Linked DNA regions of Homo sapiens: all the other regions are linked to region 2. Evidence: promoter capture Hi-C in 16 types of primary human blood cells and fetal thymus (Javierre and others, 2016). All regions are on one chromosome and are shown on one strand. The core of a region is centred on a gene start or on the middle of the fragment in contact, and the rest is flanking DNA. Distances in the headings are between cores, read along the strand shown. Region 1 has its middle 37 kb from the start of MIR9851. Region 2 holds the start of VAX1 (ventral anterior homeobox 1). Region 3 has its middle 11 kb from the start of MIR9851. Region 4 overlaps ENO4 (enolase 4). Region 5 holds the start of SPMIP5 (sperm microtubule inner protein 5). Region 6 holds the start of LOC105378498 (a long non-coding RNA gene).

Evidence for each region. The method cuts DNA at HindIII sites, captures the fragments that hold promoters and counts their contacts. A CHiCAGO score of 5 or more calls a contact.
Region 1: a fragment that was not itself captured here is called in contact with the fragment with the promoter of VAX1 in region 2 in 7 of 17 cell types (M0 macrophages, megakaryocytes, M2 macrophages and 4 more); the score reaches 9.2 in M0 macrophages.
Region 3: a fragment that was not itself captured here is called in contact with the fragment with the promoter of VAX1 in region 2 in 3 of 17 cell types (endothelial precursors, activated CD4 T cells and M1 macrophages); the score reaches 5.4 in endothelial precursors.
Region 4: a fragment that was not itself captured here is called in contact with the fragment with the promoter of VAX1 in region 2 in 3 of 17 cell types (M1 macrophages, endothelial precursors and M2 macrophages); the score reaches 6.4 in M1 macrophages.
Region 5: a contact is called between the fragment with the promoter of SPMIP5 here and the fragment with the promoter of VAX1 in region 2, in 15 of 17 cell types (naive CD4 T cells, endothelial precursors, megakaryocytes and 12 more). The highest score is 11.3, in naive CD4 T cells.
Region 6: a contact is called between a fragment that was not itself captured here and the fragment with the promoter of VAX1 in region 2, in 2 of 17 cell types (monocytes and activated CD4 T cells). The highest score is 5.6, in monocytes.

What each region holds. Positions count from the first base shown.
Region 1 is chr10:116,788,482-116,792,867 of GRCh38, forward strand. It overlaps a transcript of HSPA12A not described here. Among named protein-coding and RNA genes, the nearest start is that of MIR9851, 37 kb to the right of the region's middle. The HindIII fragment of the contact is 605 bases long and covers 2,822-3,426 here.
Region 2 is chr10:117,136,992-117,141,782 of GRCh38, forward strand. It overlaps VAX1 (ventral anterior homeobox 1), which reads right to left and starts at 1,279. Exons shown (of 3, transcript NM_001112704.2): 1 at 825-1,279. The coding sequence starts at 1,065. RefSeq lists enhancers at 2,862-3,448, 3,449-4,034. The HindIII fragment of the contact is 11,137 bases long and covers 1-3,845 here.
Region 3 is chr10:116,814,088-116,819,095 of GRCh38, forward strand. It overlaps a transcript of HSPA12A not described here. Among named protein-coding and RNA genes, the nearest start is that of MIR9851, 11 kb to the right of the region's middle. The HindIII fragment of the contact is 776 bases long and covers 1,733-2,508 here.
Region 4 is chr10:116,867,810-116,872,603 of GRCh38, forward strand. ENO4 (enolase 4) reads left to right here. Exons shown (of 14, transcript NM_001242699.2): 8 at 841-897; 9 at 3,316-3,483. Among named protein-coding and RNA genes, the nearest start is that of ENO4, 21 kb to the left of the region's middle. The HindIII fragment of the contact is 1,170 bases long and covers 774-1,943 here.
Region 5 is chr10:116,666,290-116,671,339 of GRCh38, forward strand. It overlaps SPMIP5 (sperm microtubule inner protein 5), which reads right to left and starts at 3,677. Exons shown (of 6, transcript NM_001350931.2): 1 at 3,638-3,677; 2 at 1,969-2,034. The coding sequence starts at 2,023. It overlaps HSPA12A (heat shock protein family A (Hsp70) member 12A), which reads right to left. Exons shown (of 12, transcript NM_025015.3): 12 at 4,903-5,050. HSPA12A-AS1 (HSPA12A antisense RNA 1) reads left to right here and starts at 3,766. Exons shown (of 3, transcript NR_187551.1): 1 at 3,766-3,989; 2 at 4,105-4,196. The HindIII fragment of the contact is 1,303 bases long and covers 3,186-4,488 here.
Region 6 is chr10:116,771,846-116,776,335 of GRCh38, forward strand. LOC105378498 (a long non-coding RNA gene) reads right to left here and starts at 2,155. Exons shown (of 3, transcript XR_946339.2): 1 at 1,707-2,155; 2 at 521-674. It also overlaps a transcript of HSPA12A not described here. RefSeq lists an enhancer at 3,031-3,530. The HindIII fragment of the contact is 4,474 bases long and covers 173-4,490 here.

The DNA of each region.
Region 1 (4,386 bases), core at 1,874-4,373, 350 kb before region 2:
ATTCTAAAAAAACAATAATGAAAAGCACTAGGAAAAAGAGACACCTACAGTCACCAGGCTGTGATCTGTAGCTCTTGCTAGCATTTTGGTGAGTATCCTTCCAGACTCTATCAACACATACACAGAGATACATGCAAATGGATAGCAATGGGACTGTGCAACACACCCAATTTTGTAGCCTGATTTTTTTCTCTTAATTATATATTGTGGGTATCTGCACAATAATACATGCTACATCATCATTTTTAATATTTTCAATTGAAAAAGTTATACGTGTGAAAATATACCCACAGATAAACTCACATAAATGAGAGAAACTATCTATTAATAGCAAACTTGCTGAGTCAATTATGATATATCCATCTGGTAGAATTCTACGCAGCTATTTTTTTTTTTTTTTTTGAGACAGAGTTTTGCTCTGTCACCCAGGCTGGAGTGCAGTGGCAAGATCTCAGCTCACTGCAACCTCTACCTCCCGGGTTCAAGCAGTTCTCCCTGCCTCGGCCTCCTAGTAGCTGGGTCTATAGGCACCTGCCACAACGCCCAGCTGATTTTTGTATTTTTAGTGGAGACAAGGTTTCACCATGTTGGCCAGGCTGCTCTCGAACTCCTGACTTCAGGTGATCCACCCACCTTGGCCTCACAAAGTGCTGGGATTACAGGTGTGAGCCACCGCACCCAGCCACTATGCAGCTATTAATCTAATGCACTGGTGCTGCAATATGTCAAAGATATATCACATCGCAAAATAAAATTACATTACAAAATAATACGTATAGAAGTATCCTATTTTAGCTTACAAAAATATATTTATATACATATACCATTATATATGTATTGATATATAGACATATATAGATATATATGTATATGCCTGTGTCTGAGAAGAAAATGTTTCTTGAAGGATACTCCAGAAACTCTCTTAGGAAATAAGACTGGGAAATGAAGGATGAGTATAAGTTGTAGCTTTTACTTTCTCTCCCCTTATAAGATTTTTTAAAAATATTATCCTCTCGATGATAGAATTCTGAATCCTGAATGTGCTATGACTTAGCTGAATAATGCCCTGTTGGTGAACACTCAAGCTGCTTATACTTTTTCTGCCAGGAACAAAGCTACAGTGGTACCTTGGATGTAGTCACTGTGCACTTGTCTGATTATTCCTGCTGAGTAAATTCCTAGGCATGGAATTGAGGGTTCGTTTTTAAGGTGCATCATCCAGGATATTGACTATCAACACGTCGTAGAGTGAAGCTGACGTGACTGTTCAGTGCCCGTTTGCATTTCTGAAGGGCCTAATGTCTGCTTCTAGGTGAGGAGGGCATTATCTCTGGCCATGCTTCATATCCCTGGAAGCTCTCTCCAGACTACGGGTCAGGTTCACCGGATGCCCAGACGTCCCTCTTAAGGTCTTGCTTCCATTTATGGCTGCACCTCCACACCCACTGTCATCCTCACCCACCTCTGTCTATTCCCTCCACAGCAGCCAGTGAGAGCCTTCACCAGACCCTGCCCACGCTCCATCAGTAGCTTTGCTGCACACTGGAAATCAATCCAAGGTCCTCCCATGGCCCAGGAATCCCTGCATGGTATGGACCCTGATAATCTTTCTTTTTTTTTTTTTTTTTTTTTTTTTTTGAGACAGAGTCTCGCTCTGTCGCCCAGGCCGGACTGCAGTGGCGGGATCTCGGCTCACTGCAGGCTCCGCGCCCTGGGGGTTCACGCCATTCTCCTGCCTCAGCCTCCCAAGTAACTGGGACTACAGGCGCCCGCCACCTCACCCGGCTAATTTTTTGTATTTTTAGTAAAGACGGGGTTTCACCGTGTTAGCCAGGATGGTCTCTATCTCCTGACCTCGTGATCCGCCTGCCTCAGCCTCCCAAAGTGCTGGGATTACAGGTGTAAGCCACCACGCCCAGCCCCCTGATGACCTTTCTAACCTCACGTCTCCCTCCTCTTCCTGCCCTCAGCCCACTCATGCTGCACACTGGCCACCTTGCTGTTCCTGACGCTCCCCGAACATCCAGCCCCAGGGCCTTTGCACTTGCTGTTCCCTTTGCCTGGAATACTGATCCTCTACTCACAAGCCTCTTTCCCTGGCTTCATTCACAGCCCAGCTCAAATATTTCCTCCTTAGAGAAGCCTTCTGGCCCACCCTGCCTTAAAGGACACTCTCCATTCCCAGACCCCATCTCATTGTCTAGTTATCATTTTTTATTTTTTTATTGAGACAGAGTCTCACTCCGTCGCCCAGGCTGGAGTGCAGTGGCATGATCTTGGCTCACTGCAACCTTTGCCTCCCAGGTTCAAGCGATTCTCCTGTCTCAGCCTCCCAAGTAGCTGGAACTACAGGAGCGCACCACCACACACACCTAATTTTTGTATTTTTAGTAGAGACAGGGTTTCACCATGTTAGCCATGCTGGTCTCGAACTCCTGACCTCAAGTGATCCGCCCGCCTTGGCCTCCCAATGTGCTGGGATTAGAGGCATGAGCCACTGCACCTGGCCCGTCCAGTTATCTTTGTATTCATAGCCCTGGGATTGCATTCTAAATCTACGTGTTTATTTGCCTTTGATATTCTGCTTTCACTGAGTTACAAGCTGCACAGGAGCAGGAGACTGTCTGGCTAGTGCTGTGTCCCCAACACCCAGGACAGGCCTGGAATGTGCAGGCCCTCCCTCCACAAGTGTGTGCTGCTTGGATGAAGGAGAAGCTATTAACACAAGGATGTCTGAAGCTTGAAGAGCCTAGATAGGCCATTTCTCCCAACTGCTCCCAAAGGAGGTCAGATGTGTTTAAAGCATCTTTTCCATAGATGAAGCTTTATCAAGAAAATCTGACAGAACCTTTTCAATGCAACCATTTGGGAGAAAAATTGCAAATAGGTTATTATTCAGGAAAAATACCTTTCCTCCAAACCAGAGCAGCACATCCACCCAACATACTGGCTCCTTTAGAGAAAAGCAGAAAGGTTAATATCGCCCCGTCAGAGTAAAGCAGCCAATTAGTGCAATTGCAATTCAGAAGAAGAATAGAGGTTAATTGCTTGGAGTCCACATGTCTCAAATGCCTAATGCTATATCATTATTTTTTAGCTACATATTATTCATTTCATACACTTAAGAATTCTACCTTATTACTAATTAGTAATTCCTTATCCTTAAATTTTACCCAATTCAAGTTGTCATCATAGGGCCCTCCTCAGCCCCCATTTTCCCTAAGATGCAACTAAATTGTTGAGAAAAGGTTGGCATCTCCTATTCACTACCTCCCACCTCCAGCCCCTGCCAGCACCCCCGAGTTCACCTCTCCTCTTCCACGGGCATGTGGTTTCCCTGCCTGCAGAATCTTCCATCTCGGTAAACAGGCTTCACTCCTGCCTTGGGTGTTCTCAAGCATCTACTATGTCCCAGACAAAGTTCCAAGCTTATCGATTAGCTGGGCAAAAAGATGCCAATTCATCCTGCCCAGGTGTCTCTGTTCTCTTGAAGAGACCCACAGCTTGGCACCTTGGAAATGTTAACCCAACAGATCAGAATTTCCTGGGAATGTAATAATGATATCATTAATAATAATAATATAATAATAATGATGGCCATAAATACTTCTTGAACACTTTCAGGTCTCAGACACCATGCTCATGAACTTTACATGCATGATTTTAATCCATGGGAAGCCACGTACATGCATGTACGTTGATCACGTAAGCATGTGAGTGGGACAACCCCAAACCCAGCCCCAGTTCAGCATGGGCAACAAGAATGAAACTCGGTCTCAAAAAAAAAAAAAAAAAAAAAATTATCCATCAAGGAACAAGAATTGGGAAATGTGAAAGGAGGTTAAGAGACAAAGAGTTCGGAGTGAGAGGTTCTAGAAGGAAATGAAAGTAGATGAAGCAGAGGTAATATAAGAAGATATATGGGGGTGAGAACCTTCCAGAACTAATGATAACTATCAACCCCTGGATTCAAAACAAAATAAATCCAAAGCAAGAAAAAATAAAAATAAATCAGCTGGGCGCAGTAGCACATGCCCGTAATCCCAGCACTTTGGGAGGCCGAGGCAGGCAGACTGCTTGAGCTCAGGAGTTCAAGACCAGCCTGGGCAACTTTGCAAAACCTTGCATCTACAAAAAAAAAAAAAAAAAAAAAAAATTAGCCAGGCATGGTAGTGTGCACCTGTGGTCCCAGCTACTCAGGAGGCTGAGGTGGAAGGATCGCTTGAACCCAGGAAGTCAAAGCTACAGTGAGCCAAGATCGTGCCACTAACTGCACTCCAGCCTGGGTGACAGAGTAAGACCCTGTCTCAAAAAAGAAAAGAAAAGAAAGAAAAAGAAAGAAAGAAAGAAAAAGAAAAGAGAAAAGAAAAGAAAAAGAAAATCTAT
Region 2 (4,791 bases), core at 29-2,528:
AGGGTACCCTTGTCGCCCCGCCCGGGTCCTGCGGGCCCCAGCTCTGGGCTTGCCGACCAGACCGTGATCCAGACGTCCCCACCCCCACCCTCGAGTCTCCTTCCCTCCGGAGTCCGCGCGGCGGAAGGAGGAGGGACTGAGTCGGGGCCGGCCGGGCCCGGAGATCTGCTGCTGGCTGGGGCGGCGCCGGGCCGGGGCCCGGCCTCGCAGCCTCCGCCGCCGGGGCTAAGTGCACGCCGCGCCATCCGAGAGCGGCAGAGCAGAGCACCAAAGCGGCAACCGCGGCTCCGTAACCAAGCCCAGCTGCCTCTCCCGGCGGCAGCGGTCGGGCACCGATCGCGGCCGTGGGGTCCTCGGCCCAGTGCACTAACTGGCAGGGCCGTAGCCCGCGATCGGCAGCTGTTCTCCGGGGCTCGCGTTCCCCCTTGGGTGCGCTCAGCCCTCCAGAGCGCGGGAGTCCCCTGGCCGGCTCCCGGCAGGTCGTCCGGCCCTTGGAGCGCGCACACCTCCTCCCGGAGTTTTCTGCTCCTTTCCCGGGTCGGAGGCCGCAGCCCGATGCCCGGCCGCACCCGCGCAGCCCCTCATCTCCCCCCGCAGCCCGGTCAGCGGGGCCCCTCCGGGCGTGGAGGGCCGAGGCCCCTGGAGAGCGCACCGGAGAGTCCCAGGCGCTTGTCCCCAGCCGGACTCGGGGCGGGGAGGGCCAACAACTTTCTCCCAAGTCCCAGCCGGCACTCCTTCCCACCGGCCTGTGTCGGCGGCAGCGCGCAGCTCCGGCCCCGGAGTCGACCCCAAAGAACGCGCCTGGCAGCCCTGCCCATCCCTACCTCGGACCAGGATCCGGCGGCAGTAATCCGGGTCCGCTGCGGAATTGGATTTACTTTTGTTACAATCCTCAGCAGCGCCCGACGCTGAGAAGGCGCCCTGCGGCTCCTTGAGGAAGGCGGCTGGGAGGTTCCCCTCCGCGCCCTTGCTCTCCCGACTCTCCTTGTGCGCGTTCTTCGAGACCCGGGCAGCCTCGGCGTCCGAGTGGCATCGAACGTCCATTTTGTCTGGTTTCCCGAACATAGGCAAGAACAACAACAAAAACAGAAAGGAAAAAAAAAGCAAAAAAAAAAAAAAGGGGGGGGGGCGGAGAAGGAAAAAAAAAAGAGGAAAAAGGGGACAAAACCCCCGACAACGCGGCCCGTACGCCCGGCCCGGCGACAGGCAAGGGGCAAGAATGAATGTCCCCGCGGGGAGGCTTCGGCGGCCGCGCGCGGGTCAGCGGCGACGGGAGAGTGGCGCGCTCGCCGAGAGGCGGCCAGTCTGGTCCAGGATCCTGGTGGAGCTGCGGCGAGGCCGCCTCGTCAGCACCCGCGTCCTCTGAGCACGTCCAGTGTCCCCAGCCTGGCGATCAGGTAGCGAACAGCGCAACTCCGAAATGCTGCGGCTCCCGCCTGTTTCTGAGACGGCGAGTTGTAGTTGTCCGACACCCGGGGGGACGCACACTCGCTGTTGCAATTGATTACGGGTAATTTCGCAGCCCCCACGTTTCGGTTACCTCATGAATACACTAAATTGTTTGGATAATATATCAGATCGTAATGGATGGTTTCTGTCCTTGTCCCCAATCAAGTAGGGGTTTAGCCAGTGAATAAACGGAAATGATTGGTCTTGCTTTCAGGAAACACACAATCAAAGACCCACACTTCCAGAAAAACTTTTGACAAGATTCATCCTGAATTGTTAGTACCATTAGCAGGCATTATTAACTTTCCTTTTGCCTTTGACCCTCCTGCTCACATACTGGCTAGAGGGGTTTTCTCCACACTCGCCAGATAGAGCTGAATGAGGGTTGGGCGGCGGGGGGGTGTGGGGGGAGAAAAAAAAAACCCTGCGCACCCTGCGGCAGAAGAAAGCAGTTGTCTGGGAGTGGGGGATGGGGGACAGAGCGGGGGGAGAAAGTTTTCCCAAAAAGTATCTCCCTTGCACTCTAAAAAAGCCAAGATTTTCCCCTAAACAACTCCTTCTTAACACACCTCGACGCAGACAGCCATCTTAAACTGCCACCTCTCTTCATTTAGTTCCAGTTGGATTTTTTCATGCCTGCACCTCCAGCAGCCCTGAGGCAGCCCATTCAAAGGGCAGCTTTGTACTCAGAGTCCAGCAGGAGAGAGAGGGGGAGAGGGAGAGACGGCCGAGAAATCTCAACTGTGAGATCTGCTTCAAAAAAAAAAAAAAAAAGTTTTCCCCTAGCTATTTCATTGTCTCTGCTACAATATCTTTGAGAAAAGCAACAGCCAGTAATCCAATAAGAGCATTGATTAGGCTACAATGATTCAATTCAAGCGCATGGCCTTGTGCAAGGAGCATGCTCCAGCCCTTCTCGTCACCTTGCCGGGGCAGAAGCCCTCTCCACGCCGCTCTCCCCATTCATTCCTTTATGGGAAATGCGGAGCAAAAGGAGTGAAAGATGGCAATTATCTAATTGGACTATTAACAAACAGTCCTCTGAGTGCGGCGGTCTGGCGTGGCTCCTGGGCGGGGGAAGGGCCGTGTTCCCTGCCCTCATTCACAAAGAGTGCAGGGGCCGGGGAGGAAAGGGGTTTTTTAAAGGGGGTGGGTGGGGGGAGAGGAGAGGTGGGAGGTTTGGCTGAGAATTTTTCCACACAATTCCAAGAATGGGGCGGAGGCGGGGGGAGGGGAGGGGGTTGGGGAGGGGGTCGCGGCGAGCGGGTGGGAGGAAGGCCGGGAGGGGGAGGGGTGCGAGTGTGTGTGGCGGGCCCCTAGGGGCTCCAGCTCGCAGCGACGCGCGCACCGTCCGCACCTCCCGCCCCGCCGCCACCTCCCCTGCCTCCGCCGCCACCCCGCGGGACCCCTCTACCGTCCCAAGCCAGGAGGGGGCCCCCTGAGCGGGGTCTTTCGCGCTGTCCACCCAGCCACCCCTCCAGCCACTTAGGGGCACCCAGGTTTGGCCCAGCTCCGGAGGGCATCTCTGGCCCTGCAGGCCGACATCAGGCTTCCACTTTAGTTGACTGGGCGGAGCGGTGGAACTGTCCCGAGCTACTCTCCGCAGGGCGGCGGGTTTCCAGGGTCCCCAGCGGGCTGATCGCCCCTCAGCCCGGCTTCGCTGCGCACGCTGCCCTCGAAGTCCGACGCCGACTGGGCGCCCGGGGAAAGTGCCTTTGATTACGAGCTCTGCTCCGGCGGGTTGGTGAGGCGGGTGGGAGCAGAGACGGGTAAGAGGGGTAAGGGACTTTGCGGCCACCCTGTTCTGAAGATGTAGAGTGGGATTGTGTTAAAATCCGGCGAACTCTCCTGTTACCTCCCGCAACGCTCAAAAGCCCAGACTGGCGCCTTGAGGCACCGAGGGCTTTGCTCCCATGCGGCCAAGCCGTCGGGGGTGCAGCCGCCGGGTCTTGACTCCCACTACCGCGTCGCGGGTGCGGGTCCCTGGGATTCGGGTCCTCCTGATGGGGGTCCCTGCAGCAGATGGGGCATTCACTTCCCTGCAGAGCTCGGCCCGAGGGAGCTCCTGGGCCTCCTTGGGCAGGGAGGGGTGCGACCGAATTCCCTGGCACACCGGCCCTTCCTTGCCCCCTACCCTGGAGGGGTTGGAGGGGTCGGACCCTCGGACTACGCGAGATCGGGTGCGCAGGAGGATTCTAGGCCTTCCTCAGCCCTTTAGGAGCCCTGCAGGCGGCGGAAGTCCCAAACCGCAGCCTTGGCCCAAATGGGACCCAGATGGCTCTGGGTCCCCGGCCCGGCCGCACCCCTCTGTACGGCCTCCTTCTGTCGGTGAAGGCCGCAGCGGCCTGGGAAACCCATGCGGACACCTGCGGCGCCCGGTCAAAGACCTGGAAGAAAGCTTTTTAAAAAATAAAAATGGCCCAACCCATTACATTTTCTTTTAGGTAGATGGGGGAGCTGGGGGGCGGGGCGGGGGCAGTCAGGGAACAAACAGCTGCCCTTAGAAATGACACGCCCTGTGGGCAATGGCGGCGCTGGGACGTCTGCAGCCGCATTCACTGCCACAGAGAACGGCCAAAGTATGGCCAAATCCCAAATGCAAATTTTAAGTTTGGCCTCGGAAATTTCTGCCCTCCCTCATCTTGTGGCATATTTTGTTGTAAGGGGGAACTATTTGTTTGTTTGTTTGTTGTTTGTCTGAGACGGAGTCTCACTCTGTCGCCAGGCTGGAGTGCAATGGCGCGATCTACGCTCACTACAACCTTCGCCTCCCGAGTTCAAGAGATTCTCCTGCCTCAGCCACCTGAGTAGCTGGGACTACAGGCGCGCGCCACCACGCCCAGCTAATTTTTGTGTTTTTATTGGAGACAGGGTTTCACCATGTTGGCCAGGATGGTCTCGATCTCTTGACCTCGTGATCCGCCCGCCTTGGCCTCCCAAAGTGCTGGGATTACAGACATGAGCCACAAAGCCCAGCCTGTTTGTTTGTTTTTTAAACTTACTTATTTTTGAGACAGGTTCTCGCTCTGTCGCCCAGGCTGGAGTGCAGTAGCACCATCACGGCTCACTGTAGCCTCGAATTCCCAGGCTCAAGCGATCCTCCCACCTCAACCTCCTGAGTAGCTGGGAGTACAGACGTGAGCCAACGTGTCCAGGGGAATTATTTATGAAGCAGTCACTTACTGGATGCATAAACTCACTTAATCTGAACTCCTCCTTCAGAGATGTAGTAATATTCCGGTTTTATAGGTGAAAGAATGGAGACTCAGAGAGACGTTCAGTAACTTGCCCAAGTCACACAGACTGGTATGAGCAGAATTTGAATTGACTTCTGCCTGACTT
Region 3 (5,008 bases), core at 871-3,370, 320 kb before region 2:
TTAAAAGACAGAGAATTTCAGCAAAGAATTAGAATCTATTTTTTAAAAAAGAATTAAATGAAAATTCTAGAACTGAAAACTAGAATAACTAAAATTAAGTCAGTAGATGGTTTAAAGGGCAATTAGAGCAGAAAAGATCACTGAATCAATAGAAAATACTCAGACAGAAGCACAGAGGAGAAGCCAGAAAAGATTCTAAGAGACATAAAGTCACACATGGAAGGTCTGACATATAAGTGGAGTTCCCAAGGCAGAGGGCGGCCAGCTGTTGGTGAGGATCCATACAGGAACCCCCTTTTTGCCTCCTAGCCTTTCCCTTATCTTTGCTCACCTGTGACATATCTCAGCAAGTGAAAAGCCACATCTGCTACCTACACCCACCTGCACCAAAGATGAACTTTTTCCCCCATGGGACTTTGCACTCAACTCCAGCCAATAATGGGTTTGAACATTTTTGCTAAACTGTAAAAACTGGAGTTTCTCTGCTGGCAGTCACTCTCCACCCTCCCTCCCCAGTATTCCTGATGACCCCTCATCCAGCTGTGTCCTAGTGGAAAGGCCAGACCAGGACTTGGGCCAGACTAGACAGCTCAGAGCCAAAAGAGAAAGGACATTTCTGGGACCTGCTGAATCACCACCAGGTAAGGACATCTGGGAATGAGTACCACGGACCATTGCGAGATTGGGATCATCTTTCACCACCATCACCTTGCTGGGAAGTTACATACCTCTCCTGTTCTGTATGAGAGGGTGATTGGGTTGCAAATTTGTTTTCTAAAAATACAGCCTACGTTATAAAGGGGGGAATAAGTTCCCTTCAACCAGAGCTAAGACTTAGTTTCCTAAAACCCATCAGATGGAGAGCAGACAGCAAAGGGGCAGTCTGATCTTTTCAGTAAACTGGGATAAACCCTACACTCTTTTTACACCATCCCCTCTTCTTGCAGTTATGCAGTTTATTTACAGTTGACTTTTGAACCTAAGTACACGACTTTACATTTATCCCTACCCATTTTTTTTTTTAATTAGCACCAGCTCTTTTCTTATTTCTGAGATATCTTTGAAATCAGCAGCTGATCAATCAGCCAGCCTCTTCCAACTTTGGGTCACCTATAAATCTGCCCAGAGTGGTGGATATCCTCTGCCTCAGATCCAAAAGACAAAAAAAAAAAAAAAAAAAAAAAAAAATAGACAGAGGGCCAGGCCCAGGGACTCATGCCTGCAATCCCACACTTTGGGAGGCCAAGACAGGCAGATCACTTGAGGCCAGGAGTTTGAGACCAGCCTGGCCAACATGGCAAGACCCCATTTCCACATGTAATTTTCTGAATACAAAAATTAGCCAGGTGTGGTGGTGCGTGCCCGTAGCCCCAGCTACTCAGGAGGCTGAGGCAGGAGAATTGCTTGAACTCAGGACACGGAGATGGCAGTGAGCCGAGATCACGTCACTGCACTCCAGCCTGGGCAGAAGAGTGAGACCCTGTCTCAAAAAAATAAATAAGTAAAATAAACAAATAAGCAAAAAACCCAGGAAGGAACTAGGAAACTGCTACCCCGTTTTATACAGGTAAGTAGATTCTCTAGGATAACATGGCAGGGCCCTGACTCTGTCATTTTCCCTCGGGCCACTCCCTCCAACTCCCCCACCAAACGCTGCCAGCCACAAATCCTTCTTTTCAGTGCACTCTGCCTGCTGCTCGGCATGTGCTGTTGACAAGGCTCAAAAACAGAAAGCTTGTTGTTGGAAGGGCTGTATTCCCAAGCAGTGCATCTGTAAGACAAAATGTGTATCTCCAGGGAATTCGTGTTTCTGCTCTCCCTCTCGGCCCCCGCGGCCCTAAGAGGAAGGAGCCGGGCTGTGGATTGGAACAAATCCTCACTGAGCACTGACTGGGCCAGACTCTGTGCTGAGCTGTGCAGGTGCATTACCTCCATCAAAGCCCACGCATCCTCTCTGGTGGGTGCTACTTCCTCATCTTATGGGAGAGGAAACTGAGGCTTGGAGAAGGAAAGGAACTCGCATGCTGGCCGCAGAGAGGAGTGAGTGGCATACCAGAACTGGAGTCTCAGCCCTCACGCAAAGACCACTGGCTTACTCAGCCTGATTACTCAGCAATCGCTGACCTTCCAGCTCCAAATAAGCCATTCTTTCTGCCACATTCATATCATCTTGCCCCTGACAGACGAGTGACTATATAAAACATTCCCGAAACCATTGTTCTTCCTGCTCAGCTGCCATCCCCAGAGGCAGAGGACACCTGGCCTGGTCTCTGGCACCCCGCATACGGGGCAGAGAATGTTGGCCATGTGCCAGGCAATGATGTTCCAAATTACAGTTTGATCAATGCACTCTTCACCTTTTCTCCGAGGCCTGGAGTTTTTAGCAGCTCTAACTCCAAACTTCACAGCACCCAAATCATGTCACTGAAGGAGCGAGCAGAGAAGGCGCCATGTGGCTCACGCACCTGACTTCCTAACCTTAAGCTGGTGAGACACACAGCTCCTGAAAGCTTAACCGGCGCCGTCCTGCTCACGTAAAACAGCCCCGACATCCAATTCCGATGGTTGCAGCTGCGTGGTCTCCCTGAAAATCTGCCACTCATGATTTTTTTAAATGGGGTTTTTCCTTCTTTTCAGGGTGACAAAAGTCTTCCTAATGAGAAATACCAGAGGGTTAAAATTGCCTGGAGCCCTCGCCAGTTTCTGGTACTATGGTTTAAAAGATGACTTTTTATGCTCTGGGTTACAAAACGCTTCCAACAACACCTTTGCTCAGTATTGGATTGAGGCTAAGTTTATTTTTCTGGTGGGGAAATCAATCCTTGAGCTGTGTTAAAACAATCAGCAGCTCCAGTCATGACATCACGATTCAAATCGTTCTTCCTTCTTATGTATCAACTATGCTGTCGAATGTGGAAACATGAAATCTACAGTTTGCTGGAATCATCTGGATTGTTTAAACTGTATTTCTTAGGCAGAAAGAAAGAATCATTCTTGCAACCTATACCCCTTCCCCCACCCCACCATGCAGATTTACTTCATATTTATTATTTTTTTGTTACAATTAACAAAAGGAGAAACCCATTTGCTGTTTTTTTTCCCGGGGATTTAGAACAGAAACTTCTACCGCCAGTGGCTTGTGATTCCACCCTCCACCCCTCGCTCTCTAGAAGTTTCTGAGGTCTAATTTTTTCTAACAGAGGCTTTGTCTGTAGTGAATGAACCCTGGCTACAAAGTCGGCTTAATTAAAACAATGGCATTCCAGAGACAATAGGGAACAAGGTGCCGGCTTCTGTGCTGGGTGCTAACCCTCGGCACAGCCTTCTGCGGTGACCTTAGTGGAGCTACTCCTGATGCCGTCAAGTTCAGGGACAGGCTGGTCTTCTATTCGCTCGGTTCAAGGCTCTGGCAGAGGAAATCCAGTGTGTGTGTGTGGGTGGGGGTGGGGGGGATGGCATATTCATACCTACACATAATGATCTTCTATTTAAGATTTCTCTGTGCTCCACCACCATAGCGATGGGTGTCAGGCTGCCAATAGAATGAAGAGAAGTGGAGAATCGCGGCCATTGTTAAAATATTTCAGGCTTGTCACCCAAAGTCCCCCAAAAAAACCCTCTGCCTCAAGAATGTGGGTCAGTCAAGATAATCTGCAAATATGAAGAATGTGGGTCAGTCAAGATAATCTGCAAACATGAAGAATGTGGGTCAGTCAAGATAAGCTGCAAACATGAAGATGATACAAGACCATCTCACTGCTTTCCGTCCGGATGCTGAGAGCAGCAGCAGCAGTTCGGTTGCCCTGGTCAGACACCTGGCAGACATCCTGGATCATTCGCCACCTCCAATTAGGCGCCGATTCCTGTTACCTGACCTTACAATGACACTCTCCCCTCCAGCTTCCTCTTCCTCTCCAGGGTCTCTGCCCTGAGTTAGGAGTGATCGTTTCTCACCTGGGCAACTGCATCAGCCTCCTGTCTGGCTTCCCTGCCTCTCACCTTTCCCTGGCCACACACTGCCAGTAGGGGCCTCTCCAACTAGGAAGACATCTGACCACCTCACCCTCTCCTTGAGAACTTGGATGGTTCTCCCTGAGCTACAGAATCAAGTCTCAATGCCTCAACCTGGCATATGAGCTTGGTCACAATCAGGGACCTACGAGCCTTGGTAGGTTGTCTCTCTTGGCCCCTGTAAGATCATGCTCCAGCCCAGGGAGGTAGACTTTGGGCCTGCCCCACAGCCAGACCTACCCTGTGGTGGTGTCCCAGGTCACCCACTGGTTCTCTTCCCTGCTTTACCCAGCTGCTTGATGCCAGCCATAATGGCAGTGATGTATGGAAGGGGGACACAGTTGCATCATAGGTTGTCTCTCTTGGCCCCTGTAGGATTGTGCCCCAGCCCAGCGAGGTAGACTCTGGGCCCGCCCCATAGTCAGATCGTGGTGTCCCAGGTCACCCACTGGTTCTTTTCCCTGCTCTGCTCAGCTGCTTGATGCAAACTGTAATGGCAGTGACGTATGGAAGGGGGACACAGTTACATCTCCATGTGCTGTCCCCACCAAAGCAAAGGCCACAAGCACCTCCCCACAACACACTGACACAGTGGTCTGATGTCCCAGAGGGAAAAATGTAACTGTCAGAGATAAGAAATGTTAGGACAAGGGACATGGGAGTATGTGATCCCTAAATCATGGTTCTGTTTCCATCAGTGAGTGTAAAAATCAAAATCTGTCTTGGTAAGAATTTTAAATAAAAGGAAAATGGTGAGAGATTTACCCCCAACACATTGCAGTGTGTCTCCAGGAGCAATCATCGCACCTAAGGGCACCCTTCCTGCTTCCAGGCTTGTACCTTGACCTTCTCTGTTAACCCTTTGCAGCCCCTGTCACTCTCTCTCGCTGGATTCCTGTCTCTCTGGGTCTGATGTTCCCATGTGTCTGTCTCCATTGGTCCCATTCTCCCTGAGACAGATGCTCCACAAGGGAAACCCTTGACTTTTCCTCTTCTT
Region 4 (4,794 bases), core at 109-2,608, 270 kb before region 2:
TCCAATAATAATGCAAACCAAGACTGTTCTTTAATGTTTGCCATTCTGAATTGGAGCCAGTAATCACTATTGTCCCCCGATCACATCACATGACTTCCCTTTGCCCTTCTGTTCAGGGTCACTGTATGTGCATATACTTGAGTGTGAACCATACCTATGCTTGACAATCCTGCCTCAGTTTACAGAATCAGTACACGCTGAGCATCCTTTAAAAGATTAGATCCTTGCAATAATATGCACCCAATACCCCAAATGTGGGAATGCCTCTTTGGGAATTACCTTTGCTTTTAACCTCATGACACTACACCCACCAGATTCACCAGATTTAATGACCTTTGACTGTTTCAAATCAAAGTCAAAACCACCCTGCAGGAGAAAGTGTTTGCACTCTGAGAATATTCAAAACAATATGTTGGGCCTGTAAAAGCAAATCCCGCAGTGGGGTTAAGCCCTAAGGGCAAGGAGGGGACTTTGTATCCTCCTGCAGAAAAAGGGTGCCTGCACACAGCAGGAGTTCATGATATATGTGTGAATAACACATTATTTATATGCATAGAAATGCATGAATCTGTACACACACCCCATATATGTGACTGGGGGCAGAGGGTAAGGATGAACTAAAGGAAACACATTCCTGAATTTGAGAAATAGTTTGTGGCATATAAAGTAGGGAGTGGCTGGAATCATCCCTATGTGCATGAGTGCGTGTGTGTGCGTGTATGTGTGCACACGTGTGTGAGATTCAGTGTTGCTGGTCAGGTCTCAGAGCAGTAAGCTTTGCTTGCTGCCACAGCCATGCTAAAAATTCCAGGTGATACATTTTTATCTTCTGCCCCACAGCCCTCTCCTCCAAAAGCAGAGACAAAAAAAGGGCACGATGGAAGCAAAAGAGGTCAAGTAAGTCTATATATTGTTTACCATCCTTCCATATGACACTGTCTATAAATTTCCTGCCCCTTTTTATCTTCCATAGTCACTTTTTGCTCCAAGACCAGGACTGAGGCAAATGGAAACCATATAGTGATATTGCTCCAGACACCCCCAGAGCTGCAGTATCATGCTGCCCCTGCCTTCCAGCAACAGGCTGCCCGACCATCGCTGGCAGCAGCTGTCTGACCATCTGGAATCTCACAGGGCTAGGAAGCATTTATGAGACGTAGGGTTACACTGGACCCTATAGGGGAAGTGTTTGGGAAGTCGAATCTCTCTGACAACTAGCTGAAAGGCACATAGGATGTTTTACATTTTATTATTAACAAAGAGAAAAACAAGAAGCACAAAAAGATGGCTATTCCTTCCATCTGGTCCCCCAAAGGCACTGAAGCATCATTTCTGACGAACCATTGCAGGAACTCCGATTTTGCCAGGAGAGTGAGGCGAACAGCCCTCCTTGTCAAAACCCGTTCGCTGGCTTCAGGAGCCTTGGGAGACCAGCTGAACTTGATCTGTCAGTCACGTTGGTGATTGTGAGTGCGCTGATAGATGTATCTATTATAGCCTAAACTTTCAACAATATAAATAGAAGAGCCAATAAGAACTTTGAAGAGCATGCACATGGGTGAAGGTTGCTCGCATCTGCAGTATTTGCTTTGGTTTGTGAGCGAACAATCTTTGCCCCACCCTGATGTTAGGTACATGAGAGTCAGCTGAAGACAAAAAAAAGAGGGGCTAGGAAAGAAGGGAGAAGACATGGCAAAGATAAAAAAGTGAAGTTTCTTTTTAAGATCAGGAGAGAGAAGAGAAATGTGTGAACACATACAGCGGTAAGTAAAATCCTGTCAACAGTTTGTATATGTTGGAATGAGCACAGCCTTCTAATATTAGGCCTTGCAAGAGGTGGAGATGGTAAACAAGCCACCAATTCTCAGTGCTGTGCCTTCATCCCAGCAGGTGGTTCTCTGCATGCTGGGAAACTTAGACCAACATCAGCCTTCCCTGTAATAAGCTTTACTACTACTTTTTCTTTTTCCCATTAGAAACAGTCTAGAGTATAGATTCCAGAGAGGCAGCCACACAAGAATTAGGGGTATAAACTCTGGTGCTAAATTGCCTGGATTAAAATCTGGTTCAACTTAGTTAACTCCGTAAAATGGAGATCATAATATCTTTGTATGATGTAAGGAGTAAATGTATTTACTTTATGTAATGTGCTTAGAACAGTACCTGGCATTTAGTAAGCACCAAATAAGTGATGCTTTCATAGTTTAGAAGGCTCTGTAACAAAACTCAGTTGATGGACAAAAATTTCCCCAACTATTGCTTTGTTTGCCAAATAAAAGTTTCTTCTCATTGACATTAAAATAGTGCTATCACCAGTCAAAACAGAATATTCATTCCCGGGTTCATGTTTGTCATTGAGTTTGGTGCACACACACACACCCCTTACCTTAAGCCCTCAGATTCATTGATATTGCTTCAATTTATAATTGCATAGTGGCAATTTATGGCGAGGGCACATCAAGGCTGACTTTGCAGTAGCTGTCTTTCCTTGGGGTTATGTGGGTCCTGAAATCATCTTCCACTAAAATCCATCTTCAGTATTGCATCCTCTTAGTGGAAGTCTTCAATCCTTTTAAAGTGGCCAACACCTGTAATCACAGCACTTTGGGAGTGCTGAGCACAAGACTTCAAGACCAGCCTGGGCAACACAGTGAGACCCTGTCTCTACAAAAAATAAAAAAAATAGCCAGGTGTGGTGGCACATGCCTGTAGTCTCAGCTCCTCAGGAGGTTGAGAAAGGAGGATGACTTCAGCCTGGGGAAGTCGAGGCTGCAGAGCCACGTTCAAGCCACTGCACTCCAGCCTGGGTGACAGAGCAAGACACTATCTCAAAACAAATAAATAAATGAAACTTCTCCTGAAGGAGGGCTATGCTTTTAATGGCTGCGTTTATCTAGAAGAAAACAGAACATACGAAAGAGCAGGTTTGGAGGAAAAGGACTGGCAGAGCTAGAGACAGACAGGGTGGACATTTACAGGGAGGGCCTGGAGATTCACCAACTGGGTGGTTGTGACTCAGGCTAGCCCCATGTACAAGGAATGGCAGCATCCATAAAGAGAGAACACAGACACACTAAAGAGAGAAAAGTGCACTCCCAGGCCAAACTTGGAAACCTCAGGAGTAAGAAAATTACTCCCAGATACTGCAGGGGAATCATATGCCCTAAGTCATGTGAATCAATCCTAAGTAGGATTGAGAATCAAAGGACTGATCTTTGCAGAGCTATATCTGATCATAAACCATGCTTATCACAGGAAGCGCCAAGAACCTTAATGTGCTGTATTGACATGGATCATTGTCTCTTGATCTTGCAGCAGCAGATCACTGGCAAGATGTCTCATCTTGGCTGTTTAACCATTAACTGTGACTCCATAGAACAGCCACTGCTTCTAATACAGGAAATCTGTGCCAACCTGGGGCTAGAACTGGGAACAAATCTGCATCTAGCTATCAACTGTGCTGGACATGAGCTGATGGACTACGTAAGTTTCCACTTCAGAACATTCACTTCCTATTGAGATCCATGATTTTTAAATTAGAACTCAGAAAAAAAAGAGCTTATCTGAATATTGTCCAAACAGATCTTATTGTTTTTTTATTAATATTGTGTGAAGGATCCAAATATAATGAGAAAACCAAATTAGCTAATGACCACAGAATAACATAACCATAAAATTTTTTAAATAGAAAATGTCATTATTATATATAGAAATTCTACAATAAAGATAAGTAAAATGAGTTACTTACATTGCAATCCTGAAAGCTACTGAAAAATAATTTAACAAACTGCATTTGGTTGATAAATGCTGAATTTGTCGAACCTAAAAAGTAGATGAGTTGTAACTTATGATGTGATAGGCGCTTCCAGACATGTAGTTCTTAGAATTTATGCTGTGACTTTTTAAATATAAAAATTTTTCCAAGTTATTGAAGTTTATGAAGAAGATGTTTTTGTCCAACTAAACACATCACAGTGTTATCCACAGCCTGGGTTAGGAGGACAGAGCTTTAGTGATGTGACGAGACTCCACCTGGGGACCACCCACCTGAAGAGAAAGATTCTAAAGAGAGTGAAAAACAGGTTCATTGAAAAACATCCTAGTTGGTGGGGCACAGTGGCTCACGCCTGTAATCCCAGCACTTTGGGAGGCCGAGGTGGGTGGATCACCTGAGGTCAGGAGTTCAAGACCAGCCTGGCCAACATGGTGAAACCCCCCTCTACAAAAAATGCAAAAAATTAGCTGGGCGTGGTGGTGGGCTTCTGTAATCTCAGCTACTCAGGAGGCTGAGGCAAAAGAATCGCTTGAACCCAGGAGGCGGAGGTTGCAGTGAGCCAAGATCGTGCCATTGCACTCCAGCCTGGGCAACAAGAGTGAAACTCCATCTCAAAACAAAAAACAAGCAACATTCTAGTCTTCACTTCCTCAGGGTAATACAACGGCAATTTACCTTTAAACTTGGGAAACTGGTATGTTAGGAAAGTTATTAGTTTTCTGTCTTACACATGTACTTCCTGATATGGTTTGGCTGTGTCCCCACCCAATTCGCATCTTGAATTGTAGCTCCCATGATTCCCATGTATCATGGGAGGTAACTGAATCATGGTGGCGGGTCTTTCCCATGCTATTCTCATGATAGTGAATAAGTCTCACTAGATCTGATGGTTTTATAAAGGGGAGTTCCCCTGCACACACTCTCTCTTGCCTGCTGCCATGTAAGACATGATTTTGCTCTTCCTTTACCTTCCACCATGATTGTGTGGCCTCCTCAGCCATGTGGAACTGTAAGTCAAT
Region 5 (5,050 bases), core at 2,427-4,926, 470 kb before region 2:
CACAAAAAGGTAAATTCATTATCTGCAAGACCCACCCCTAGCACAATTTTTCACCATTTCCCACCAAGTAACATATAATCATTACAATTAGTATGGGTAAAACACAACTATTTACTTAAACTGGAGGCTGAATCCTAAGTACTATAATATTGTCACAATAAAACCATTTTTTTTTTTTTTGAAGAACAAATGAGGAAAACTGGTTAAGAACTTAGTTTCAAACTGCAAAATAAATAAATAAATCTCTCTCCTTATGGAAACCCAACATTTTTGCCATGGTCTCCAGGAAAACAAAACCTGGCTTCAGAGTTGAAAGTAGCAATCCTCACCCCCAGAGCCCTACAATAACCCCCTCTGGAAGAACCTAATTACTAAACTAATCTTGACAGTGTTGGAAGCCTTCCATGCATCGCCCAGACTCCCCAACCCTTGGATGATTAAAAGATATCCTAACATTATGAAGACCCTAGGGGCTTTGCCACAGTGGTTTCCCTGCCATCAGGGCCGACTTTGGTCTGCCTAGGTTTTATATTAGTGCATATATGCACAGACATAAGCATACGAACTACCTTTATCGAGTCTCGCTAAGGACCAAGACATTTAAAATAGGTTATGTATGCTGGCTCCTTTAATCCTCACAACAATCTTATGGTATCCCATGTAGTGGGTTGAACTGTATCCTCCAAATAGATATATGCAAGTCCTAACCCCTGGTACCTGTGAATGTGCATTTATCTACAAATAGGGACTTCTCAGATGTAATTAAGTTAAGGGCCTAAAAATGAGATCATCCCGGATTTAGGGTGGGTCCTAAATCTGATGACTGATGTCCTTATAGAGGAAAGAAGAGAGAGACTTGTGACACAGAGACAAAGGGGGAAATGCCGTGTGAGGATGAAGAGAGTGACTGGAGAGATGCTGCCACAAGCCAAGAACACTGGGGCCACCAGAAGCTGGAAGAAGCAAAGGTGGGATCCTTCCCTAGCGCCTTCAGAAAGAGCATGGCCCTGCGGGCACCTCGATTTCAGACGTCTGGCCTCAGAACTGTGAGGGAATGCATTTCCATCACTTTAAACCACATAGTTTGTGGTAATTTGTTGCAGTGGTCCTAGAAAACAAATACATCCATTTTATAGAATGTTGTACTTACCACAGAGAGGCAAGTTACTTACAGTCTCATCGACAGTGACCAAACAGAGATTCGAACCTCAGCTTGTCAGAACCCAAAGCCTATTCTCAACCAGCCATTAGGACCAGAGTGAGGTTGGGCAACCCTGGAATATCACCCAAGTACTATTCCTCCTGAGAACGGCTGTATGGGAGAGCCAAGGGTCTGTGGGGACCACTGGGTTTGTCACCCACAGGGATATGACTTAGTAAGTTCTCAGTAGCCCAGAAGCCTGAGGAGGAATAGCCTCTAGGTAGGGCAACCAATCGTCCTGGTTTGCCAAGGACTGAGGAGTTTCCCAAATGCAAGATTTTCAGTGTTAAGGAAAGTCCCAGGCAGTCCCAGGACAAAGGCAGTCCCAGGTAGACCAGGGCAGTTGGCCAGCCTTCCTTTAGGGGATGCAGGAAAGGATGGGAGCACAAGAATAACCTTTGTGGAGGACTTGAGAAAACCAACTTGGGGAGAACAGGGCCTCTACTTATTCATGTGTCTATCCTCATCACATTGTGTCTATCCTCATCACATTGTGTCTATCCTGGTCCAAATTCATTCAACAGGCATTAAGTGCTTCCTCTGCATACCAGGCCATGTTCTGGGACGTGTGGTCTAAGTTCTGCCCCTCAGAACCCGGCCATCAGCCATCTTCAGCGATGGAATGCTCTCAATGCATGTCTGAGAAGCTAGAGCGCCTAGACTGGTCCAGTTGGCTGCACAGACACAGACAGTGGGTCAAGGCAGGGACAGTGACCAGGACCCGGGTTCCCCTGCCAGGCACAGCTGCAGGGTACGTCCACACTTACCGCTATAGCCTGGTGTGATTGGCAGGTTTCTCATGAAGGTCTTGGAAGGCTCCATGATTTCGCTCTCTGTTAGTGGAGGGAAGAGGGAATGAAACGGTCTCATCAAAAGTCACTGCCTTAAGGAATTACTATTGAGTGTGCACAAGCTCTTGGGAGTGGAAGAATGACTGCCAGGAGTTGGGGCTGAGAGGCAGCACTACCACCTTACCCAAAGCCAGAGACACAGCTGGCTTCAGTCACAAACCAATGACCTATTACCAAGGGCCCATCACCTTTTATGTTAACTTGGATAACAGTGTGTAGATCACACCTACCAGGGTCTCCTCTCCCCTCCATCCGACCTCCAGCCATCCAACAATTGTGAACTGTACTCATACTATGGCTGTGAAACATGATAGAGGCTGGGAATGCAAAGCTTCTGAGCAAGCCCAGAAGCCCCTGTGTTAGGTTCATGAGCCTCAGGTGAGGAGAGAGATGAGGCCCGCACACCCCCAGACCTCCTTCTTGATCCAGGTGAAATCAGGTTGCAGTGGTGATTTTTGCCAGCCCCCACCATTACCCCTGGAACATCTGGCAATGTCCAGAGGCATATTTGGCTGTCAGAAGTGGGGGATGGGATGCTACTGAACATCCTGCAATGCTCAGAAGCCTCCCCCCACCCGCCGGCACACACATGCACACACACACACACACACACACACACACACACACACAAACAAGGGAGAAGAAATTCTGGCTTGAAGGAATCAGGAAGTCCCAAAAGGCAGACATGGAGTCCAAGGAGGGTAAGCAGAGGCCACCCTCTGCTTCAGGGGGCTCCACTGAAACATCAGTTTATGTGGATGCTGTTTCTGCAATAAGACACCTTCCCTCTTTGGGTATCGCTGGTCATTCCCCCCAAGTGGGCTGAGGCCTTGCCAAGTCCTGCCCTGCTGAGCCAGTTCATCTCTTTAAAGAAATGCCTTTGAGGCTGGAAGAAGAGGATTCAGGGTGGAGGAGAGGGCCACAGTCATGGCTTAGTCAGCAATGATGGGGATTGTTAAGACAGTTCAGCCCCCGCCAGGCTGACAGCAGTGAGGACTGTGCCGCGTCTAGGCCACTCTAACCCCTGGCATCACGTACCTGACTCCTGGGAGGAAGCACTGGGCCTGGAGTCAGACAGACCTGGCTGTGAGACCATGTCCCACCCATACTGACCACCTGCTTACTTTTCTGAAAGCTTTCCACGCTTGTTTAATCCTCTCAACAGCCCCATGATATAAATGCTATATTATACCCATTCCCCAATTTAAAAAGGCAACAGACAGGGAACACTGGCTATCCCCATGTGGTTGCAGCAGAACCGCATTCTCCTTTAATCCCCACAGCTTCCCTAAGAATGAGTTCCTGTTGGAACCCCCATTTTATAAATGTGAAAAATAAGGCACAGAGAGGTTAGGTAACTGGTTTCAGGGTTCCAGAGTGAAAGGGGGTGCGAACAGATGACCTCTAAACTCTCAGGGACAGGATATGTTGCCCAAAAGCATCAGCTGGGGTATAAGCCTGCCTGGAGGAGGTGGGCAGGGAGGAGGGTGGGAAGAAAGGCGGTGTCCTGAGAAAGGGGGCTAGGAGTGGGTAGAAAGTAGGGCCCCTCCTAGCCACCCTCTTCCAATCCCACCTCAGCGCTCACCTGGGCGGGGCTGGCGCTATCCGGTGCCCACTTGGCCTCTGCCCGGCCGCCCAGGATCCCTGCCTTCCACCAGGCCTTTGTGCGCTCACCCGGTGGAGCACAAAGGCCCCACCACCGCCAGCCTGCCCCTCCCCCACCCTTCCCGCGGTCCCACCTGGAAGGTGGGCGCTTCCCCCAGCGCCCGGCACAGCCCGGACCCCGGTGTAAAGTCGGGCATCTGCGCAGTAAACATCTGGCCTCGGAGCTGTCCTCCGCGCCTTGGCTGCCCCAGCCAGGGGAAGGATATGCGGAGGGCTCTAAGTCAAAGCGGGCGTTTTTGCGGGTGTAGACACTGCGGCGCCTGGGTCTGCAGGTCTGGCCGGGGAAGCGGGTGGGCGGGAACAGGGGGCGGGGCCGGCAGTGGGCGGGAGGAGGCGAGGCCTGGGGGCCCTGGCGCCTCCAATACAGGAGCTTCCTGGGCCTGGCAGCCCCTCCCTCCCTGTCTCCTGTTAGGAGGGGCAGATTTTCAGGTGGCCGGGACAGGTGAAGGCAGAGAGGAGTGGCTGTCCACCTGGGGAAGGTGAGTCATCCTTCTTTCTAATCACTCTTGGAGGGACACCCAGACTTCCTCTCATTGAATTGAAACCCACCAAGATGTCCGCCCTATGAACCAGCATGTGCTGGCTGCTCCCTTTACAGAAAATGACGCTGAAGCTGCGCTACTTCCAGGACACGCTTGTTTGCTGCACCTCCCGGCCTTCCCTACCTCTACTTTTCTGAAAATTGAACTGCAAATGAAGGCTGGTGGAGCCGACCACCATTTATACCTCTCTTTTATCACCCCATTTAGAACATACCTCGGGCCATCAGGAAGCTTTCAGAGCCAACTGTGGAGGGCGACTCAGGTGTAGGCTCTGGACACAGCCAGTTTCACGTGACGGCTGGGATGCCCAGGGGCAAGAGCCCAGCCAGGCCTTCTGCATGTTTTAATGACTTACACTGGGGTGCAGTGGCATTGGCAGTGGTCACTCTGCTTACCTGCCCTCCCTCTGGCTAGACCACTTTCTTCCAGAGAAAAGGGGCTCTGTGCCCATCGATGGGGCCTTGGTTCCCAGCAAACAAAGGGCCTAGTCTTGTTAGAATAACTTAAGAAAACTTACAGCACCTGGAAAAAACTGAAACTCTCTCTCCACCACCTGAGATGGGGTAGAGAGGGAGATCAGTACTGACGTGTCCATCATGCAGTTTGCAAACCCAGGATGGGGGGAAAAAAAATCTGGGCCACATGAGATTCAGAGTTTTGCTTTATTAGGCGTCTGTGAAGACAAGAGAGTTTGCAGACACAGTCCCGTCTGGTGGTGAACTGCTGCAAAGTTCTGTGAAGTTTGAATTTATCTTGTAGTGAATGAGACCCCAGTAGCTGATATTTTAGAA
Region 6 (4,490 bases), core at 1,160-3,659, 360 kb before region 2:
TGGGAGAACTGCTGGGGGCGGTGGGGAGGTGGCATCCTCTGGGGCCTATATTGATGCCAACTCCAGTCCAGGCAGGCTGCTCCAGCAGCTGTGCTGTCTCAGCCACGGCCACACCTGAACAGTCCCCACCGTATTTCCCATCTCCACATTTCCAGGTGAGCTACACTCAATAAGCTTAACATGGGAGAGGGCAGAGGCAGGACGAGGCTGGATGCCAGGCCATTCCCTGAGATGACAGCACAGGACGGGAGCGGGGGTAGTGGCGAGGATGATGGTGTTCCCGCCTTGGGACACTAAATGACCTGGGTGTCTCTGGGACATGCAAGTGGAGATGTCCAGATAAGGCTGGATCACGTGGGTTCAGGGATCATCAGTGCTGGGGCAGGGGGTACTGTGAAGCCATTGAGTGGAGGAGCTGATCTTGGATCCTGTGTACAGGTGAAGAGAGGAGATCCCAGGACAGACCCCCAGAGCCCCAGAGCCCCAACACTTGGCAGAAGAAGAGGATCTCAGACTCTACCCCACTTGCTCCTGGGACCAGCAGGGCTGGCTCTGCTGGCAGAAAATGCTGAGCAGACTCTGTGGAGCTGCATGCCAGGCCCAAACTCAGAGCTCTGTCTCCAGGAAGATGCTTTCAGGGAATATTTGTAACAGCCCTTTTGCAGATGCTGAAACTGAGACCCAGAGAAGTTAAATCACAACTTGAAGGCACGAGAGCAAATGAGGCCCGAAGCTGTCTGGCTCCAAAGTTCCAAGTTTTATCCCTGGGCCCTATCTCTGCTCTAGGAAAGCCTGTGGTTCTTCTTTTTCTTTTCCTTTCTATCTTTATTTTATTTATTTGTTTATTTATTTATTTATTTATTTGGAGACAGGGTCTCCCTCTCTATTGCCTAGGCTGGAGTGCAGTGGTGTGATCACGGCTCACTGCAGCCTCAACCTCCTGGGCTCAAGCGATCCTCCCAACTTAGGCTCCTAAGTAGCTGGGACTGCAGGCACACACCACCACATCTGGCTGATTATTATTATTATTATTATTTGTAAAGACAGAGTCTCACTATGCTGCCTAGGCTGGTCTTGAACTCCTAGTCTCAAGCAATTCTCCCACCTTGGCCTCCCAAAGTGCTGGTATTAACAGGCATGAGCCACTGCACCTGGCCACCTGTGGTTCTTCTGAGAAGGGGCTCATTCAGTCAGGACCGGGGACCCTAGCTAGACTAAAAGTCTGGGTGAGCCAGGGGACTTCCAAACAACTGCAGCCCCAGCTGCTCCCGTTGACTCCCCCTGGGCCCTCCTTCCTCCCACTCCTTTTCCTCTGCACAGCAGGCAAGGTCCCAGGGAGGCAAGAGCAGGCCCAGGTGGGCCCAGGCATTTCCCCAGCCCCTCCAGAGGCCCAGGATGAACTGGCCTGGGATGAGGCCCTGCTAATGAGCAAAGGCTTCAGTCCACTGAGCAGTACATGGTAGCACAGAAGAAGGCCTGGTACACCAACAGCAAATTGCATTTCCTTCTCAGAACCCTCAGCTCTGGTCTGGTACCCCCAGGCAACAACAGCCTAGCGGGCAGACAGGACAGGAGGCCTGGGAGCTGTGCGTCACTCAAAGCCAGACTGGAGAGTGACAATTGCCTTCGCAGCTCCCAGCGGGTTTCGAGAAGGTAACATGACCAGGGAGCAGTTCTGCCTCCCTTCTGTCACCTCTGAACCTCACCTTGGCCCATGGCCCCTCAACCTTGACTGATGCTAAGTAAGCAGTCTCCTCCTCCTTATTCCCTGGCCAACCTGCCCAGCTCACAGTGGGGGCCTCAGCCAAGGGTTGTCAACTGCAGCCTGAGAAAGTCTTTCTCACTGACTTGCCCCAAGAAGGGATTCCACTCAGCTGACAATTATGAAGCTCTGGCTGGTCCCTGGTCCTGGGCAGGGGCAAAGCTGCAAAACAGCCCACAGGGAGCTCACAGTGCCTGTGGTAATGATGATGACGATGATGGTGATGATGCTGACAATGGTCATTATCATGGTGACGGGGTGGAGGACTTGGAGCCAGGAGACCTAATTACAAATGATAACTATGCCACCATTCAGCTGAATGACCTTGGGTAGGTTACTTACCCTCTTTGGTCTTGAGTGGCATTCACTATGACATGGGGTGGGGGAACCTGCTCTGTGGCAAGGGCTTTTTTTTTTTTTGAGACGGAGTCTCGCTCTGTCCCCCAGGCTGGAGTGCAGTGGCGGGATCTCTGCTCACTGCAAGCTCCGCCTCCCGGGTTCACGCCATTCTCCTGCCTCAGCCTCCCAAGTAGCTGGGACTACAGGCGCCCGCCACTACGCCCGGCTAATTTTTTGTATTTTTAGTAGAGACGGGGTTTCACCGTTTTAGCCGGGATGGTCTCGATCTCCTGACCTCGTGATCCGCCCGCCTCGGCCTCCCAAAGTGCTGGGATTACAGGCGTGAGCCACCGCGCCCGGCCGGCAAGGGCTTTTTTGAAATATTTGCCATAGAGCACTCTGCGAGGGTCCCAGGTGATACTGCACCAATGCCTAGTTCAGTCCCTGACCAGTGTGGTCCCTGACCAGCAGCATTAACAACTCTTGGGCACTTAATAGAAATGCAAATTCTCAGGCCCCAAGGCAGATCTACTGACCCAGAGACTCTGGGTAGGGCCCAGCAACTGCACATCTCACACTCTTGCCAAAGTGTGAGAACCCCTGGAATAAAGAAATGTCAATGGTGCTCTTGGGTCTCTTCACAGACGTGGCTCTGCTAGAGGACTGGCCTTTTGGAGCAGGAGTTCATGGCCCAGATCCATCTCTTAGGAGAAAGGATTGGAGAGTGGGACATTGAGAGGGAGGCCTTCTGTGCACCCCTTCATTCACCCACCAGAAAACCCAGGTCCACCATTGAATAAGCTCCTCCCCCAGTCCCATGCCTGCCCACGTGGCCCTGGCCTGACTCCACCCTGACCCTGCAGGCTGCACAAGCCTGGAGCCCTCCACCCTGGCCCCTGCAGGCCCCAGTCCTGCCGGCTCCTGCACCAGCCCCTCGTGTTGGCTATACTGCCATGGCATAGGTCCAGCTGGCATCCTGTCACTCCACTCCCTCCCCAAGGGCCCCAGGTCGACTGCTACACACCCACCGCCACTGCTCCCAACTGTGCTGCTTTGGGGGACTCCAGCATTCCTTTGCTCCCTCCCGCCCATCCTGTGGCTGTCTCTGCTGAGTCACTCTTTATTAGTGTCCTCCCAGACACCTGGCACAGGTGCCCCCAAGGGATTGGGCCAGAAGCCAATAGCAGCAATTGCTGCCATTTACCAAGTGCTGATTCTGTACTAAGAACGTGCGAGTTCCTTATATCAGTTATCCCACCACTCACAAACCTATGGATAGGGCCTCAGGACTCCCATTTTACAGATGGATGAATTGAGACTCAGGAAGGAAAGATCCCAGGGTCACACAGGGCCACATAGCCAGTGAGACGGGAGCCTGGGATTTGAACTCCTGCCTGTCCGGTTGCAAAGCCAGCTCTCTCTGTCACCCCACACTGTCTCTTCTAGAGAGCCCTGGGGAGGACGGGGGCCAGCCAGTGGGCAGCCTGGGAAGGGAGTCTCTGTAGCTGGAAATGGCCAATGTATTTTCTAGAAACAGGAAATCTAACATTGACCGTGAAGTTTGTTTCCTGGTCAGTTCTGTCTGTTCCCACTGACAGCCTCGTGATACTGACTTTCAGGGCACCCGATGAGAGGGGATGGAAGAAGGACCTCCCGCCTCTCCCCACAGGAGTGCTGGGTGAGCCCTGACTTTCCTCAGTGCTCGGATGCTGGGAAGGTGCTGGGGCCATTTCATTTGCTTGCTAAAGGAAACACTCAGGCCAGGGGGCCAGAGGATTTGGGGACATCAGGGCACAGAAGTAACAGGGGGCTTTCAAGCCCTTTCCCAACTCCTCCCCGAGACAGTGACCTGGCCTAATCCTGCAGCCCCTATGACCTCTCTGTCCCTGGGGTCTTGTGAGGGCTCCTGCAGCTGGGGAGCTATGCCTTCTACTGTGGTCCCCAGCCTGGCACAGACTCTCTTATGTGACTCCACCAGGGACTAGACTGGGGGCAGCTGAGTGCCATAAAAGAAGTTAATGTGGCCTCACGTTGGTGGTGAGTGAGGGGCTTTGGGTCTACCTGCCATCCTCTGCGTCCCCTCTGGCCTCCAGTTAAGTGACCCATCCCATTGGTCTCTGTCCACTGAGCTGACTGCCCCCCAGTACCCAAGACAAGTGCCACTGCTCCTGGTTCCCAGGTCCCTGTTTTGGGTGACCACCTCACCCCCTCCCTGCCTCAGCACCTCTGTGGCCCACCCCTGGGACTCCTGTGGGACACAGGCAGGTGTCATGGGTGGACAACAAGGAGCATCTCAGGTCCGTCCGCCTGGACGCCCCCCTCTGCCTCGGGATTTCGCTCAAAGCAGCCTCCAGCTCTTGGCCGCTTCCTCCCGCTGGTCTCACCCCCA